2 separate regions of the Homo sapiens genome follow, and region 2 is linked to region 1. Evidence: promoter capture Hi-C in 16 types of primary human blood cells and fetal thymus (Javierre and others, 2016). All regions are on one chromosome and are shown on one strand. Each heading gives the region's core, a stretch centred on a gene start or on the middle of the fragment in contact. The rest is flanking DNA. Distances are from core to core; before and after follow the strand shown.

Region 1 (3,905 bases), core at 718-3,217:
CCCAGAGACACTTCAGCACAGGGTCGAAGCTCATACTCACACTGCCTACATCCTCAAAGCATGGCCCTCTCCACACACCCTCAACCCCATTCCTCAGAGTGAGCATCCTGGTCCGGTGAAATGTTTAAATCCAGCAAACGTCTCCTGGACACCTTCCATAAGGCCCCCACTGTGGGAGTAAAGGGGCAGAGACTGGGTATGGGCTAGAACAAGCTTCCCACTGGGAGGCAGGATGAGCCTGATAGTAGTAAGGCTACAGGGCCAGGCCTAGGGGGGCATGAAGGCACATGGCATGGCCAGGGGGAAGGGACAGGGGTGAGCAGCAGGTGCACAAAGAGATTCAGGAGAGAGAGAGACAGGGAGCCAATGGGCTCCCAGATTACTGAGGAAGGGAACTGCAGCCCTCTTACAAGGCTGTCCTCTGCTTCTGTGTAGCGAACTAAGAGAAGTTTTTTGAGGAAGGCAGCCTAATCCATAGTTTTGCAAAGTTAACAGTGTTGTGAGCAGTCCCATTTGTAAAATGGAAATACCACCTTCCTCACCGGATTATTGTGGGAAGTAACTGATATGTAACTTTTGGGAAAGGACTTTGCGAACCATTACATGTTTCCCACACCAAGGCATTACCAGTAGGTAATCAAACAGGTGTAGAGAGGAAGTTTGGATGTAATAAATTCAATGCCAGACAAAAACGTTGTCCTGCTTTGGGGGAGCTGGCAATACAGCCCTCCTGTCCCTATAACCTGGTTTCACCTGGACTCAGGCTGGCTGGGGGAGGGGTGATTTTTGCTTAAACCCTGACCTGGCCCCCTGACTCCAGCCCTTACCATCAATAACTCTACCTTATCTGCAGTCCGGAGACCTCTGCAAAGGAGCCGCTGCGACAGCCCGTCCCCACCATCTGCTCCTATATTTAGTTACTGGTGTTGTCAGTTGGGAACGTTAGAGCCTGGCAGGGGCTCGGATGGGCAACCGGAGCCTCCGGAGCCATGTGTGCAAGCTGGCCCTACCGCTGGCTCCAGCCCGGGCTCTGGACCATGCCAAGCCGGGGAGCGGGTGGGGAGGTGAGGAGCGACCCAAATAGTCCCAAACCCCCCTTCAGATCAGAACGAAGTTGACCCACTTCCCCACCCCAGGGAAAGAAGCCCGCTGGGACGTGAGCGGGACCTGCTGGCGCCTTGTTTTTGTGGCATGGGGTTCGGGAAGCTCAGCGCGTGCTCCCTCGCTAACATCTAGGCATCCTCGGACTGAGCCTCCAGCACTACGCGCGGTAGCCAGGCAAGGGTCCCCCAGCCCCGCGTGCCAGGATCCGCCTCACCCCCGGTGCCTGCAGCCAATGGCACCTCGTCCGCTGGCCCGGCAGGCGGGGACTGGGAGAATAAAGCTGGCAGAGGGAAGAATGGTAGTGATCGCAGAGGCCCCGGGGCTCCCACGCTGCCCGGAGGCCGAGAGGCACGCTCTGGAGCAGGCGTCTGCAGCTCCCCAGAGCGGAAGCAAACCCCGAAAGTGTCGCTTCGGGGACGAAATGCACAGCAGCCTCTCCAAGCAAGGGCGCCTCCCGCGAGGAATGGAGGCCCGCCTGGGAGCGGTTCTCCGAGCTCCCTATTCCCTGGCACCTCTGCACCCACTCCCCTGAACCATCGGGGTCCAGGTGCAGTGAGCAAGCAAGAGCCCGCGCATGCCGAGCCCCTTGGCACCGCCAGAGCCTCCGCTGGTGCACCGCTGCTCTTTTCCACCGGGTGACCTGGGGGAGGGGAGGGGACGCTGCAAAAATCGGAACACTTCTCGCCCTCTCTCCCCCAGCCCCTGCAACGCTTGACCTCGGACTACATTTACTTTGCGGGGCAAGAAGCGTGTGGTCCCGCTCCGGGCCGCTTTTGGCTCCACTTACGGCGACAATGCCTCCTAGCGCCCTGCGCAGCGCAGTCACGCTCCCTCCGCCGCCGGCGGCGCCCCAGGCGAGTTCCGAGCCGGCGGGGCGGGGCGCGCGGGGCTGCGGGATCTGCGCGCGCGGCCACTCCGCCAATCCCGGCGCCAGGACCGGCGCCGCGGCGGGAGCAGGCTGGGCTCGGGATGCGCTCAGCCAATCAGTGGGGGAGCGGCGCGCGCGGGGGTGGCGCGCGGAAGGGCAGCCCGCGCGCTCCCGGCCGCAGGGAGTAACCGCTTTGTGTGCTGCTTCTAGAGGGAGAACGCCTGAGGGGGCGGAGATACAGAGTGGGACGCGCAGTACATCCCAGGATCTCTAGGACCGGGGCTCCAGATTGGGTTTTCTCGAGGGAATGGAGTTGAATTAGCCAGATCAGGGATACTTTGAAACACGTGAACATGGAGCATAGGGAAATTTTCCTATGATGACTTCGGGTGCCCATTGAGGTTTTTAGTATATGCAAGGCCCTGTGTCTCGGCCCTGCGTCTCCAATCCTAATGTTCTCATCTATAAAATATGACTTGAGGGCGGGGCGCGGCGACTCACGCCTGTAATCCCAGCACTTTGGGAGGCCGAGGTAGACGGATCACCTGAGGTCGGGAGTTCGAGACCAGCCTGGCCAACATGGCAAAACCCCCGTCTCTACTAAAAATACAAAAATTAGCCGGGCGTGGTGGCAGGCGCCTGTAGCCGCAGCTACTCGGGATGCTGAGGCAGGAGAATCGCTTGAACCCGGGAGGCGGAGGTTGCAGTGAGCCGAGATGGGCACTCCAACCTGAGTGGACAGAGTGAGACTCTGTCTCAAAGAAAAAAAAAAGAATATTTAATTCCGCCTCTAGGGGGTCTAGGCAGTCAAAGAACACACATTCCCTTGGGCCTCGATGGATGTTAAGGGTTACTTATGCCCTCTCCACCCCCAACAATATGTTAAAGTTCATCAGAATGTGATCTTATTTGGAAGTAGGGCCGTTGCAGATGTAATGAGTTAAGGTCATGCTGGAGTAGGGCGGGCCCCTAATCCACTGAGACTGGTGTCGTTGTAAGAGAAGAGACACAGAAGAGACGCACAGGGAGAACCACCTGTGGTGATGGCGGCAGGGATCAGCTGATGCATTTCCAAGGCCAGGAGTGCCAAGCACTGCCAGCAGGGACCAGAAGCTAGGAACGGGCAGGGAATAATTCCTCCTTCAGAGCCTCCAAAAAGGAACTAACCCTCCAGACACCTTGATTTTGGACTTAATAGCTTCCAGAGCTGTAAGTGAATAAATTTCTGTTGCCACCCAGTTTATGTCCATTTGTTATAGCAGCCCTAGGAAAAAACTACAATAGGTTAGTAGGAATAAAGAGAAGAGGATGATAAATATCTCCAAAGTAAGTCTTTTGAAACTGATTGCTTAGTATATGCAAAGCCTTGTGTCTTGGGGTATACTGACATGAATCAGACACAGACCCTGCCCTCAAGGGGTTACCAGTCAAGTGGATACTTAAGCAGCCATGTTTTCTGACCCCTTGTGCCTTCCCAGGGAAAACTATGGAGATCTCTCTCAACCCATCAACACCACATCCCTGCCAGATATATAGCAAGTACCAGATATAAATAACTAATGGGTAGAGTCCCATTCTGCCCAAGCCGAGATGCTGCTTGCCACTGTGGACAAAGCAGGCATAGCTACTTCTGTTTTCACTGAAAACCAGCATGACACTTCTACCCAACTTTTACACGTGGATGTCTTCTCTCCTCTGCTAGTCCATACGCAGACTTGAGACAGCCAGTACAGTGTTTCTGTACCCATGGTAAGGGCTCAGTATATACTGCTGGCTGATGGCCCCAGCCTGGGGTTTCCAACATTCATACTTTCCCTCAGACAGTCCCCTGTCCCAGGCAGTTCATCCTGGACCCTCTAACTCCACAGAGACAAGATCCCTCCCTAGCTCAAATCCACCTCTTCTATTCCTACTGTTTTTGCTTCTCCAGAGC
Region 2 (4,489 bases), core at 872-3,371, 270 kb before region 1:
ACTTCCCTCGAGCTTAGCAGCCACGGGGCTTTATCAACTCTGTCACCAATGGGAACCACATTTAGGGGAGTAAACAGTAAAACAAAGGAGTATGACAGAAATTGTGAGACAAGGCTGGCCTAATTCAGTTTCACAGCCCGCTTTTGAAACCCCACTCTCTGCAGGGCATGTGGAGATCATCAAATGGCAGTCCCTGTCAAGGAACTACACAATCAAGTTCAGTGGTTCTCAACTCATAGAAGGTCCTAAAATCACATAAGCATAAGCCCCTGCACCAGACCTACTGAGTCAGGACCTCTGGGTGGTCAGTACCCTGACTCTGTGGGGCCCAGGCACAGCTATTTTTTAAAAGCCACAGTAGGCCAGGTGTGATGGCTCACGCCTGTAATCCCAGCACTTTGGGTGCCTGAGGCAAGAGGATCACTTGAGCCCTGGAGTTCAAGACCAGTCTGGGCAACATAGCAAAACCTCATCTCTATAAAAAAATTTTAAAAATTAGCACATGCCTGTAATCCCAGCTACTCGAGAGGCTGAGGCACTAGAATCACTTGAACCCAGGAGGTGGAGGTTGCAGCGAGCTGAGATCGCACCACTGCACTCCAGCCTGGGCGACAGAAAAAGACTCTGTCTCAAAAAAAAACTAAAAATAAAAAAATAAAAATAAAAGCCACTGTATTCATTTCCTGTGGCTACTGTAACAAATTACCACAAAGTTCGTGGCTTCAGACAACACAAATTTGTCTTCTTACAGTTCTGGAGGCCAGAAGTCCACAATGAGTTTTAAGAGTCTAAGATCCAGGTGTTGGCAGGGCTGGTTCCTTCTGGAGGCTCAGGGAAGGATCCCTTCCTTGCCTTTTCCAGCTTCTAAGCTGCAACATTCCTTGGCTCCTGGCTGCATCGTTCCAATCTCTGTCTCCTTCATCCCACGGCCTTCTCCTGCCTTTGACCTTCTTGCCTCCCTCTTATCAGGTCCCAGGCTCACCCAGACAGTCCAGGATCATCTCCCCATCTCAAGAGCCTTCACTTAATCACATCTGCAAAGTCCTTTTTGCCATGTACGGGAACACCCACAGGTTTCAGGGAGGAGGACGTGGATGTTTTGGGATGCCATTACTTTACCTGCCACAGCCACCAGAGAGGATCTGATGTGTCCCTTTAACTAGGAACCATTGTGAGGAGGTAGCCCAACCCAGGGACTACTTGGCAGACCATATGAAAATGGCGCATCAGAGCAGCATTAAACGCTTCTACCCAAAGCTTGTGCTAACTGTGCAAAGCAATACAGCCCAGCTCTTGCTCTCGTTAAACATAGTCCACATCAGGAGCACAGGATGCTGCCCAGCCAACGTCTCTATCACTGCCTTATCTCCAGATCTAACAGGTACCTGATGAGGTTAGGCTATAACCTAGGAAACCTTAGGAAATAACCCGCGGCATTTTCTCTCCTATGTCCCAGCCGCCGTCAGCCAATCCAGTGGACTCGCAGCCAAATTTGTCATCCACTGTCACATCCCTCAGTGGGGCTCCGACAAATGTGAAGAACAGCTTGAAGAGACCATCAAAAACTGCCTGTCAGCGGCGGAGGACAAGAAGCTAAAGTCCGTCGCGTTCCCGCCTTTCCCCAGCGGCAGGTAAGATGCAGTTCCCCTGAGTTGATTCCTCCGGCTTTTTCCCTGGAAATCAGCTGCTCCCCCACTTACATCTGATCTGGGTGTTGCCAAGGGCTGCCAGCACAGCCAAGTATGCTGACCAGATGACAGGGCAGGAAACCCGGTTTTCATCCTTCAGAAACCATGGGGAAGCGAGCCCACTGGCTCCTAGGCAGCAGGTCTTCCCCGGCTGGGGCCAGCCCCAGTGCCTCCTTGATGTTAAAGCCCCAGGAGGAAGGCTAGCCCAGGGGAGGAGCGGGAGGCAGAGGCCAGCTGGTGTGTTATTTTTTGAGAGCCTTCCAGGTTCAAAGTCCATATTCCCACCAGCTGTCCATGTCCAGGACACATGATCAGAAAACGCCAGGCTCGAAGGCCTTGCTACTCAAAGTGTGGTCCATAGGCAGCAGTGACCGATGTCAGAATGCAGAATCTCAGGCCCCCCATCTCCGACCTCTGGCTCCAGAATCCCCAGAGAATTCCGTTGCTGCTCTGGGAGACTGCAGAGCCAGGAGTTCGAGGCTTTGATGAATACACCCAGAGAAGTGAAAATCTGTCCCCGAGTGATTGCTGAAAAGGAGACTGGGCAATGACTGGATTGTCACAGATCCCAGCTGGGCATTGTTTCAGATACATAATGAGGATATCTGCTGTCACATAAAACATATCCTTTCCCTTCATGCCCCTAGCCAATCTATTGCTTTAATTTTGAACACCCTCTCACCTTGAGAGCTGTCCTTTATAATATAGCTATGGTTTATAGCTGTGTCCTGGGAAGCCCAAGAGGAAAATAATGAGACCTAGGTTCCTGCTGTAATCACACATCAACCTAGGCAAGCAGCATTGAGTCTCAGCATTCCAGGCCCAGAGATGCTGTGAGATGCATTCTTTCGTCGGTGGAACCACGGCAGTGCTGTTCTGTGCTGGAATACATGCGATTGGGAAGAATTCCTATTAACAGGCCCCTCCTGGACCTGCTCCAGGGGTCTCTGTGGCTGACCCCTAACGACCATTCTGGCTGTGTCCCTGGAAGCTGGTGCTGTGGCCCAGCCTGGTGGATGGCACTATCAGTAGCTCCCTGGAACCTGGGGCCTTTAACAAACTTTCATTAACCCCGCCATGCCCGGAGTCACAATGCTGAAATTACATGGGCCTGTGCCTATGAAATATTAAGTGCATAAAAAAGGACTTACGAAGACAGGTTTGGAGCATACATTTTTGCCCTTTACTAAGCAATTGGGTTAGTATATAAACCAGTTTGGAGGGAGCTAATAAAACTTCTGTTTGCTTGTTTGAAGACCAGGTATTTTTAATGCTGAATGGCTAGCATTTTTAAAGCCAAGCTTGACTTGGTCAGGTGACATAGAATCAAATATAGGGAGCTGGCACGGTGGCTCACGCCTGTAAATCCAAAAGCTTTAGGAGGCTGAGGCAGGAGGATCATTTGAGGCCAGGAGTTCGAGACCAGCCTGGGCAACATAACAAGACCCATCTCTACAAAAAATTTAAAAAAAAAAATTTTTTTATAGGCACACGCCTTTAGTCCCAGCTACTGAGGAGGCTGAGGCAGAAGACAGATAGCTTGAGCCCAGAGGTTTGAAGCTGCAGTGAGCTATGATCACACCACTGCACTCTAGCCTGAGTGATGGAGCAAGACTTTGCCTCTGAAAAAAAAACTAATTTAAAAAAAGTATAATAAAAAATAAAATACAGGGCACTCTTCACTTGGCCAGCCCTGTGACCTTGACTAAAATCATTGTGCTTGGCAGGGCACGGTGGCTCACACCTGTAATCCCAGCACTTTGGGAGGCCGAGGCAGGCGGATCACCTGAGGTCAGGAGTTCAAGACCAGCCTAGCCAACATGGTGAAACCCCGTCTCTACTAAAAATACAAAAATTAGCCAGGCATGATGGTGCGCACTTGTAGTCCCAGCTGCTTGGGATGCTGAGGCAGGAGAATCGCTTGAACCCGGGAGGTGGAGGTTGCAGTGAGCTGAGATCGCGCCACTGCACTCCAGCCTGGGCAACAGAGAGAGACTCCATCCCAAAACAAATAAATTAATTTAATCAAATTAAATCATTGTGCCTCTCCGAGTCAGTGTGACACCTATAAAGTGGGGGCAACATGCCCCACCTGCCACCCCCAGGCTGTCCCTTTGGCTAGGGTCAAAGGAGATCATGCATGGACTAGCCCTGCACACAGCAAGGCCCCACCCAGTAAAAACAAAGGCACTTCATGCTCCCATGGGTCCCAGGGACCAAAATGACATCGGCTCTTCTTTTGCTTTGGCACAGAAACTGCTTTCCCAAACAGACTGCGGCCCAGGTGACCCTCAAAGCCATCTCAGCCCACTTTGATGACTCGAGCGCGTCCTCGCTGAAGAACGTGTACTTCCTGCTCTTCGACAGCGAGAGCATCGGCATCTACGTGCAGGAGATGGCCAAGCTCGACGCCAAGTAGCCGCCGCACTTTCCAGCAGGGATCGGAGGACGACCCGAGTCCCAAGAGTGGGGTTTTGCTTTTTAAAAGGAGAGAGGAGGGGTGATGGCAGGGGAGTGGAGGGTGGCCGGGCAGGTCCTGCCGGCGCAGGGAGCCCTCTGCCCTTCACACTCTCCTCCAAAAGAGCCTCCATCTGTAAGGAAGCAGGTCTCCGCGAGGGGTTTCTTTCCATGTGTTTTCCTCCTGTTGTTTTAGAACTTTTTTAAAAAAACAGACCTCGTTTTAGATTTATAGCATTGACTTTTACACACATTCACACAAGAAAAAAATCCTTTCAAAATTCTTAAATCTTCTGTTCCTCCTTTTTCCAAGGGAAGAGGGCAAAAAGTGGCCTGGGCTCTGT

What was found. The method cuts DNA at HindIII sites, captures the fragments that hold promoters and counts their contacts. A CHiCAGO score of 5 or more calls a contact.
Region 2: a fragment that was not itself captured here is called in contact with the fragment with the promoter of LRRC20 in region 1 in 1 of 17 cell types (activated CD4 T cells); the score reaches 5.6 in activated CD4 T cells.

Annotation. Positions count from the first base shown.
Region 1 is chr10:70,380,658-70,384,562 of GRCh38, forward strand. LRRC20 (leucine rich repeat containing 20) reads right to left here and starts at 1,968. Exons shown (of 5, transcript NM_001278212.2): 1 at 1,892-1,968. RefSeq lists enhancers at 1,179-1,798, 1,643-1,842, 2,373-2,472 and a silencer at 1,873-2,242. The HindIII fragment of the contact is 9,077 bases long and covers 212-3,905 here.
Region 2 is chr10:70,107,577-70,112,065 of GRCh38, forward strand. It overlaps MACROH2A2 (macroH2A.2 histone), which reads left to right. Exons shown (of 9, transcript NM_018649.3): 8 at 1,457-1,631; 9 at 3,942-4,489. The coding sequence ends at 4,107. Among named protein-coding and RNA genes, the nearest start is that of AIFM2, 23 kb to the right of the region's middle. The HindIII fragment of the contact is 1,732 bases long and covers 1,256-2,987 here.